Linked DNA regions of Homo sapiens: region 1 is linked to region 2. The links are contacts of gene promoters, found by promoter capture Hi-C in blood cells and fetal thymus (Javierre and others, 2016). All regions are on one chromosome and are shown on one strand. Each heading gives the region's core, a stretch centred on a gene start or on the middle of the fragment in contact. The rest is flanking DNA. Distances are from core to core; before and after follow the strand shown.

Region 1 (4,784 bases), core at 732-3,231, 4.2 Mb after region 2:
TAAGTTCCTGTTTTATTGCATTCATATTCTTAAGTTCTTCTTCAGCACAAAGTAGATATGATGAATTTTCTTTTCTCCCCTCTTAGGCTAGGTTTTACCCCAAGGTCTTGTACTTTATCCATCTTTTACATCGTTCCTTCCTTCCTCTCCCCCTTCCCTCCCTCTCTCCCTTCCATCCTTGTCTTCCTTCCTTCAATTTTAGGAGTCCATAGGATTCCCAATAATTTTTTTCTTTTTCATTTTCAGCATGTGGAATTCTGTTCACTCTATTTGCTCTGTATGTTGGTCAGCTATCACTACAATAAAACTGCACCCCAAAATTTCAGTAATTTCAACCAAAAACATTTCTCTTGCTTATAATATTCTGAATAGCCCGCTGCGGTTCAACCGATCTCAACTTGGCTCACCCGGGTTTGCATATACGGAAGTTTTGGAGTGGCTGGCATGTGAGGCTCTACCTTGCTTGGCTCTTAAGCAGAACTGTCTCTCAGTCTGATTCTCTAGAGACTGAAGTTATTAATAAGATGTGTTAGGACTTTTCTTTCCTGTGTGGGGAATAATGACTGGGACTGCATGAAGGGTAGGGCTCTGCAAAGGCCAGTGTATCATCTCACCTAGCACTGATAACACACTGATACAGACCTATTCACATCACTGCCTACAAACTGGACCAAGACTTGCAAATTTTGGAAGCCCCAGACGTTGGGACTTTAGCATCAAGACCTAAAATGCCCAACTTTACCTCTACCACTGACCCCATACTCAGTAAGAAGTTAAGAATAAATCCAGCCTACAAAAATTTACTGACCGAAAGCTGCCTATTACCAAAAGATATAAAATCCATTGCAACTTTAAACCTACCGGCTACCAGAGAAATTTAATAGTAACTACTACGTGTCTTGGTGGGACAATAAAGTGTTCTAATCCATTGAATATTACAGTTCATATTAGCACATATTCATAGCACATACCATATAACTTTTTATTAAACAAAGAAGACTTCTTAGAGTTTCGTAGTTCTTCAGAATTTTTGTGGAAAATATTAATTTCATTAAAGAAGTACTTGAGTTCTTAATTAAAATCTGGTCTAATTTGATCAATAGAAGTTTACATATTTTAATGTTTGACAATTTTAAGTAGTTGGTAATTGTCATAATGCCTAACTTTTTAATCTTCTCCTGCCTATCCCATCTAAATACCCATCTAAATGCCTAGTGTTAATCTCGTGTCTTCTATCAGACTTCTACATACTCATCTACATCCTCAACCACTGAATCCTATTGCACTTATAGTCAACGCCACACAATTCTTTAAGTATTTCGCGTGTATGTCTTCAATTAGATTGTAAGCTTCTTGGAACTGGATCTATGCCTTAATTTCTTTCTAATCTTCCCAGCGAGCCTACAAGTTAATTTGGGGAGTATACAGCGTTCAACAAATACTGGTTGGGTCTGTGACCTTAGCTTTGCCATTTTTGTCAAAGCGTATAACCATCTAGTTTCAATTGTGCCCTGACATGACTATTTCTCTGGGGTTTCTCTTTGCTCAACGCCATTGTTCATTTTCTATTAGAATAAAGGGCTTGTTGAACAGAGATGCCAACGCAGCGTCCCGTGGAATCTGAATAAACGGACTGATCCACCGCCCCGGGTGTTGAGGCTGTGAACAAAAATTAAACCTCTGATAGCCCACGAACAGCTTAACGACACATATTTTAAAATACCACTCCAAAGCCTAGTTACCTGCCAGTTACCCCGGCCTCCGGAGCTGCCGATGCTCGAAGATGTTGACAAGGCAGCTAGGATATACAGTCCAGAAGCCCAGTCGCTACGGTAACGGTGACACGCAAGTGCACTTGCGCGGCCTTCTGACGGAAAACCTTAGCCTGAACCTACAGACGTGCTTAGCGACGGCAGAGGCTTGCGGCAGTAGCGTGACTTACGGCAGCTCTCTAGCAGAGCGCCGTTGCTGGGGGAATGCAGAAGCGGCCGCGGGCTAGCAAGCTCCCGGAGCCGGCGGCGCACCACCATGACCCAGTCGGTGGTCGTACAGGGTAAGCTACGCCGGGCGGGTAGAGACCTGGTCGCCGCGGAATCCAGCGGCCATGTTTCCTGCTTAATGTCCTATTCTCTTTCCTTCCTCTCCTCCGGTCGCAGTCGGCCAGTGCGGAAACCAGATCGGCTGCTGCTTCTGGGACCTGGCACTAAGGGAGCACGCCGCGGTCAACCAGGTACCCGCCCGCCGCCGCGAGCCCCCTCGCCTGTCAGCTAGGTCTTCCAGCCCATACGCAGGAAATAATCGACTTGAGCTTTCATCTGACCCGTTTAAGATGCATGGGATCTTCCCAGTAAAGAACGTACTGGTTTTTAAACATGTTGCGTCAGACACACACTAAACTAAAAGAACACTGGCCAGCGACCTTAGTCTTAACGTTTTTCCTGATTCTCAGGGTCTCCTCTTTATTGGTGTTCGTGTGCAGAACAGTGAGATTTGTATATGGGAAAGTACTTTGTAAAATAGATAACACGTGTGGTTATTGTATTCCTTAATTTAACCAGTCAGCTTTTAAAAAGATTACGAAGAATCCAGAGAACGCTCATTTGATGGACCTGTCCTACAGTCCTATGGGTGAAATCCTTTCTTTAGCACCCCCTGCTGAACTTTTTATCTGTAGATCTGGCATTTACTCTTCTAAGGAGATTGGGAAGAGTCAGGCTCCGCATTTTGTGATACTTGGTTTTTCTTATCAGAGTCTCATCCTAGCCATTACAGTATTATGTAATTAAAATTGAAAGAACTTGATTTGGGCGAGAAGCAAAACCTAAATGCTATTAACATATGTTTTTCTTTTTAGAAAGGAATTTATGATGAGGCAATAAGCAGCTTCTTTAGAAATGTGGACACCAGGTAAGATGGGATTAAAGTCTGTCACAGTGTGATACTTTAAGTTTCAGTAGCTTGGGAGAGAATTCTTCAAAGGACAATAAAAATAGCCAGCTGCGAAGTTGTGTTTTTTTGTTTCATTATTGAAAGCATATTTATTCTATTAGATTATTAATATTCTTATATCATTTTCCCGAAGAAGACAACAGATTTCCCTTTAGTGTGACTTCTTTTAACTTAACCTTGAAATAAGTTTCATTAAAAGAAAGCTGAAATTTTCCCAGAGGGCATCTTGTTAATGCATCCTGTAATAACTAACTTTTGAAAGAAAAATATATTGTTTACATATATGCTGTAAGTATAAAAATATACTTAAAAAGGTGACAAGCAGTTGTTGGATTGTTTTTGTTTATTTAATAAAGAGTATATGTAAGTACCATATATGTTTTATCTGGAAGAGTAATTTAAGTTGCCGTTTAGGATATCTCCATAAGCTTTTAATATTAAATCATTAAGTTCATGCATTTTCAAAATACTTCATAAAACTAACTGTCCTGTGCTTAAACTGAAAAATACATACTTCGTGTCAGGCTTTAATCCAATAGGAACATCAGTTCTAGTTTAAAATAGTTGGCTGGGTGTGTGAGCAGTTATCTTCAGAGAAAGCTGATTAGTCCGCGCTTCCTGGGTGAATTCCAGAGTCTATCTAGGGCACTGGCTTGCAAACTCAGAAGTGTCATTGGCATCTCGAGATGGGTTCAGTGCTCTCCAGTACAGCCAGGTTAACCAAAGACCAAATTCTCATTTTCATAGGCACATTACTTTATCTTTTGTAGGAAATCTAACTGAAAAGCTGTGTAATAATCTGAAGGTTGCTTGGTGACCATGGAATCAGACCAAAGGAAGTTAGTTACTTTAATGGCTGGTATCATTTATATTTATTTTATGGAGATATCTGTCATATAGACTATAGATTCCCTCTTATTTGTAGCCCACAATATCCTCACCTCTAAATTCTCTTAGGAGACTCAAATTTGCTTCTGTCATACTTCCTTTCCGGCGCTTCTCTTGCTAAGTTCCTACACCCACCTCTTTACTTCTTGTTACCCAACGCTTACATTGAGTATTACATAGTTGAGACTCAGCCTGGGAGCTTTTCTTTCTTCATAAGGTGACTCTTCATAACTACACTCTCATCTACTCTGTGTGTTTTATACTTTAACCTGAGAGCACTATTATTTTCCCGGTAAGTTTGGCAAACAGGGTTGTGGCATCTTGCACTTCTTTCTGTGTACTATCAACACATGCAGCATCTGTTCCACAGCTTAGTACAAAAAATATTTTTCAAAGTAAAACCATATCTTTGTGTACTATTCTTATCAAATTTTTATACCTTTTGAGTAGCATGATAGGAATTTACCTACAGCATGGGTTGGCATGCATATATTTTCTGTAAAGGACCAGGCAGTAAATATTTTAGGTTTTGTGAACCATAAAGTCTTTTGCACCACTACTTGATCTGTAGCATGATTGTGGGCATAGGTAATACATAAAGGAATGGGTGTGTCCACATTTGAATAAAATTTTATTTAGGAAAACAGGCAGCTAGTTGAATTTGGCCTGATGATTGGCTACCCTTCATATATTCCGTCTTGTGAACTGTCTTTATTGACCCATATACTGCGTTAGATTTTAGTACTTTGGCAACTTATTTCCAACGTGAAATTCTGAGAACAACCTTAGATACTCAATGGTAAATACCAGTTATATCAGTTGATGGGTGTTAACTGCAATAGAAAACTACATTAATGGTGGCTGAGGCAGTAAAGGTATTCATTTATCTCACAAATCTGCAAATCAGATGTTCTAGGTTTAAAGGAATGCCTCAAAGATCTAATACT
Region 2 (4,906 bases), core at 1,032-3,531:
GCCATGCATCACAGGCTCCATCACTTGTAGAGAGAAATGCATTATATATTTCTGTAGACAGAAACGAAGTAAAGCCTGAAATGATTACCTTGACTTTTTCAGAAAGGAGAGAATTGGAAATACAGTGCTGGTAGTCCGAGGCTTTGATATGTAAACTCACCTAAATATGCTGGTCTTTTCAGAGTTCGTTTGTCATACAGTGTGACCACACAAACTTAAATTATTTGTAAAATAAAATTGTTTTCTCTGTGTTTTTCCTATCCTTTTAGAGCCTTTGAAACATATATAGAAATTCATTCTCCTGAGTAGGAAACTGTTACTATATAGAATAGAGCAGCCCTCTGGTTTGCCAGTGGCAGATAGGAAGGAGAGCAGAGTGACAACCCATATGCCCCTTACTTCTCTTCCGCAAGGAGCAAGTTGCAAGCAAGAGAAACTGTTTTCTGCTCATTTGCTCCTTTATTTAACATTTTAATAATCTATGGGATACTGTGTAAGGTAGTGTGCTAGGCACTCGATAAACAGAGGGAAACGAAACCATGATCATGTCCTCTTGCAGTTTACAGTCTCCTCAGATATCGTTTGTGGTATGTTTAGGCTTTAATTTTGTCTTTCTGTGCATTTGCCTAAGTATATTTCTGGTCTTGATATTGAAAGACAGATTCAAGCTGTAATACATCACAGCTGTTGGGCAGGAACTCACGGGAAGCCATGAGCAAGGTAGAAGGGGCTGCTATTAGAAACAACTTGAGGCACCCATAGATGCAACCAAACCTTAATCCAAGGTGTATTCATTTCATATTGCTTCTGTAACAAATTACCACAAATTTAATAGCTTAAAATGCACAAATTTATTTTCTTATAGTGCTGGAGTTTAGAGGTAATAACCTCAAGGTGTTGTCATTCCTTTGGAGGCTCTAGGATTGAATCTATTTCCTTACCTTTCAAGCTTCTAGAGGCTGCCTTTATTCCTACGATCCTGGCTCCTTCCTCCATCTTCAAAGCCAGCAACATAGCGATTTCCCTTTCCTCCCTCCCACACCTATTCTCCACCATTCCTTCCCTCTCTCTGTGCTTTCGTCCTCTTATCTTCTCTGACTGACCCTCCTGCCTCCTTCTTATAAGAAATTTGTAATTCCATAGGGCCCACCTGTATAATCCAGAATCATCTTCTCATCTCCAAATCTTTAACTTAATCATATCTGCGAAGTCCCTTTGGCCGCATAACTAAGACAGGTACATCTTTGAGGGCCATCAGGCTACTACCACACAAAGCAAATTAAGTAGAAAATAACGTTTGCCTCTTTTATACCTTGAGTCCACCAGCTGCATGTTGCCCTTTGCAAGTTTGTTTTCTACTTCAAGGCCATCTTAGTTGTCCATTTTAACTAGCCTTTCCTCACAAAATGGTGGTATGTGGCTCCCCCCACTGATATTTCTCTGAGGCCTTGTAGCTCTCTAAGACAGCACCAGTTTAACTCACAAGTCAACAAACTGGAACACTTCAACCAGAGACATTGACATCCCCCTCTAATGAACTCAGCTGATTGCTAAAGACAGATGCTTCGTTAGAGCCAAACATTCCTATCTTACATAACTAAATATGATAATAAATTAAGTTCTTGGGGCTGGAAATAGTTATAATTTCCTCTTTCTTGCAGTGAAAAGGCATGGAACATTTAGCAAACTGATCCTGGCTTAATTTCTACCGATACTATGCAGCACAAACTCTTATTTGATGCAGATTATAAATCGAAAATTAGCAATGAATACTATGCATCGCTTTAGTGGTAAGAGGCTGCTGAGTAGCTTTTTTTCCCCAGTAACCGTAGAGGCAAGAATTGATATTTTTATGTCACTTTTACTAAGAAGGGGGGAAACATTTTGCTATTAATCTTAAAGAGAAGTCTTTTGCTGCTAGTTACGTGGAGTAACAGGGAATAGATTTACCTTCCTGCCTCAAAAAAGTGAAGACCAGAAAAACATTTGTTTTCAGACACTGGAGAGCAGGCACTGTTACGGCTGTGATTTTACAACTGCTCCTACATGCTGGGAGCAGTCGCTAGATGCATCTCAAGGTGGGTCGTCCGCGCTTCCAGACTCAGCACAATCGACATTTATTTACGTAGGTAAAATTACTGTTGCTATGGGTAAATTCACAGAAATAAAGCCCAGAGAATCCGGTTGGCTGGCAGGGAGCGGCGGAACCAATCCCGGGCTCAGCAAGTTCTCGCGATACCGTGAGATCTCCAGTCCTGACGACACCGCCGCTGAAATGTTAGTGAGACTGTAGGGTGGGCGGTGCGAGCGGCGGTTAGCTCCCAGTTCGGCCTCTGAGGAAAACGGGCGTTCGCCTGCGGTTGGTCCGACTGTTAGCAACATGAGCGGCCTGGATGGGGTCAAGAGGACCACTCCCCTCCAAACCCACAGCATCATTATTTCTGACCAAGTCCCGAGCGACCAGGACGCACACCAGTACCTGAGGCTCCGCGACCAAAGCGAGGCGACACAGGTGATGGCGGAGCCGGGTGAGGGAGGCTCGGAGACCGTCGCGCTCCCGCCTCCACCGCCTTCAGAGGAGGGGGGCGTACCCCAGGATGCCGCGGGCCGTGGCGGTACTCCCCAGATCCGAGTTGTTGGGGGTCGCGGTCATGTGGCGATCAAAGCCGGGCAGGAAGAGGGCCAGCCTCCCGCCGAAGGCCTGGCAGCCGCTTCTGTGGTGATGGCAGCCGACCGCAGCCTGAAAAAGGGCGTTCAGGGTGGAGAGAAGGCCCTAGAAATCTGTGGCGCCCAGAGATCCGCGTCTGAGCTGACGGCGGGGGCGGAGGCTGAGGCGGAGGAGGTGAAGACAGGAAAGTGCGCCACCGTCTCAGCAGCCGTGGCTGAGAGGGAGAGCGCTGAGGTGGTGAAGGAAGGCCTGGCGGAGAAGGAGGTAATGGAGGAGCAGATGGAGGTAGAGGAGCAGCCGCCAGAAGGTGAAGAAATAGAAGTGGCGGAGGAGGATAGATTGGAGGAGGAGGCGAGGGAGGAAGAAGGGCCCTGGCCTTTGCATGAGGCTCTCCGCATGGACCCTCTGGAGGCCATCCAGCTGGAACTGGACACTGTGAATGCTCAGGCCGACAGGGCCTTCCAACAGCTGGAGCACAAGTTTGGGCGGATGCGTCGACACTACCTGGAGCGGAGGAACTACATCATTCAGAATATCCCGGGCTTCTGGATGACTGCTTTTCGAAACCACCCCCAGTTGTCCGCCATGATTAGGGGCCAAGATGCAGAGATGTTAAGGTACATAACCAATTTAGAGGTGAAGGAACTCAGACACCCTAGAACCGGTTGCAAGTTCAAGTTCTTCTTTAGAAGAAACCCCTACTTCAGAAACAAGCTGATTGTCAAGGAATATGAGGTAAGATCCTCCGGCCGAGTGGTGTCTCTTTCTACTCCAATTATATGGCGCAGGGGGCATGAACCCCAGTCCTTCATTCGCAGAAACCAAGACCTCATCTGCAGCTTCTTCACTTGGTTTTCAGACCACAGCCTTCCAGAGTCCGACAAAATTGCTGAGATTATTAAAGAGGATCTGTGGCCAAATCCACTGCAATACTACCTGTTGCGTGAAGGAGTCCGTAGAGCCCGACGTCGCCCGCTAAGGGAGCCTGTAGAGATCCCCAGGCCCTTTGGGTTCCAGTCTGGTTAACATTTGCCCTTGGGAATACTCCTGCACAAGGTCTCCTACCACCTTCTGCTGGACCTGTGCTTGGGCATCAGCAATGAGTATGCCTTCTATTGTGCTTTGTTTTTGCTGACTTTTCTGCACCCTGTTTCCTTTGGATATTCAGTTCTCTCAACCTCAAGATTGAGACGGTGGTGGGTATGCTTCTCCACTTCCATATGACCTTCATGCTGTTCTGGAATATCACATGCTACGAGGTCATCCTTCACACTACTTGTAAGCCAAGCAAATGATACTGTAGATTGTACTGCCTTTATCTGCACTGCTTGGACCCTGTTTATTCCCAGGGCCTCTGAACTGGTTGCTGTCACTTGGATTTCTAGCTTTGGGAGCCTGTTCCACCTACTCAGCTCTGCATTGAGCAGTATGGGCACATGCCCTGTGGACAGTTACTGGACGTTAATGAACTCAGAGGAGAAAAGCAGTGAGCCACTTGTTCTGTGTGATTTATGGTACTTCATTGCTCTTCCTTCACCTCTAGTCACTTTCTATTGCTACCTGCCCTACATTGGCTCCTGCCAAGGTCCCTCTCTCTCCCTGTTTTCCTTTTTTTTTTTTTTTTTTTTTTTTTTGAGACGGAGGACGGAGTCTTGCTCTGTCGCCCAGGTTGGAGTGCAGTGGCGCGATCTCGGCTCACTGCAACCTCCACCTCCCGGGTTCAAGCGATTCTCCTGCCTCAGCCTCCCGAGTAGCTGGGACTACAGGCGCGCGCCGCCACGCCCGGCTAATTTTTATATTTTTAGTAGAGACGGGGTTTCACCATGCTGGCCAGGCTGGTCTCGAACCCCGATCTCGTGATCCGCCCTCCTTAGCCTCCCAATCCTCTCTTAAAAAAGTGATAGCTCAGAAACATTTGTAAAAGCAAGGTTTTTATTTCATTTTGGCTCTGTCATTTTCAGAGGCAAAGAAGTTGGCCTGTAAAATAGAGTGCTAGAGCTCTTACGCCCCTCCCCTTCTTCCCAACTTCCTACTTCCTAGCCCTTTTATCAACTCCTAGAATAGTTAAAGAGAGACACATCTAGATGGGATGAAAGGTGCCCTAAGCAGGAGAAACTGAACAAAAGGCTAGAGGCATGGGCCAGGTAAAAATTGGGCCTAGAGTGAAGACTGTGCTGTCGTTAAGAGCTTTCGAGGAAGGAGTACTTACTCCCCAATGATGATGAATGGAAAAATACT

Evidence for each region. Contacts are between HindIII fragments. The CHiCAGO score rates a contact against its expected background, and 5 or more counts as called.
Region 1: a contact is called between the fragment with the promoter of TUBE1 here and the fragment with the promoter of TSPYL1 in region 2, in 1 of 17 cell types (total CD4 T cells). The highest score is 6.6, in total CD4 T cells.

Annotation. Positions count from the first base shown.
Region 1 is chr6:112,084,679-112,089,462 of GRCh38, reverse strand. It overlaps TUBE1 (tubulin epsilon 1), which reads left to right and starts at 1,981. Exons shown (of 12, transcript NM_016262.5): 1 at 1,981-2,053; 2 at 2,157-2,230; 3 at 2,855-2,907. The coding sequence starts at 2,029. FAM229B (family with sequence similarity 229 member B) reads right to left here and starts at 1,872. Exons shown (of 4, transcript NM_001033564.3): 1 at 1,743-1,872. RefSeq lists enhancers at 1,812-2,001, 1,736-2,267, 2,402-2,451. The HindIII fragment of the contact is 2,028 bases long and covers 1,352-3,379 here.
Region 2 is chr6:116,277,305-116,282,210 of GRCh38, reverse strand. TSPYL1 (TSPY like 1) reads left to right here and starts at 2,281. Exons shown (of 1, transcript NM_003309.4): 1 at 2,281-4,906. The coding sequence starts at 2,381. The coding sequence ends at 3,694. It also overlaps a transcript of DSE not described here. RefSeq lists enhancers at 2,288-2,347, 2,578-2,847, 2,868-2,917. The HindIII fragment of the contact is 6,415 bases long and covers 952-4,906 here.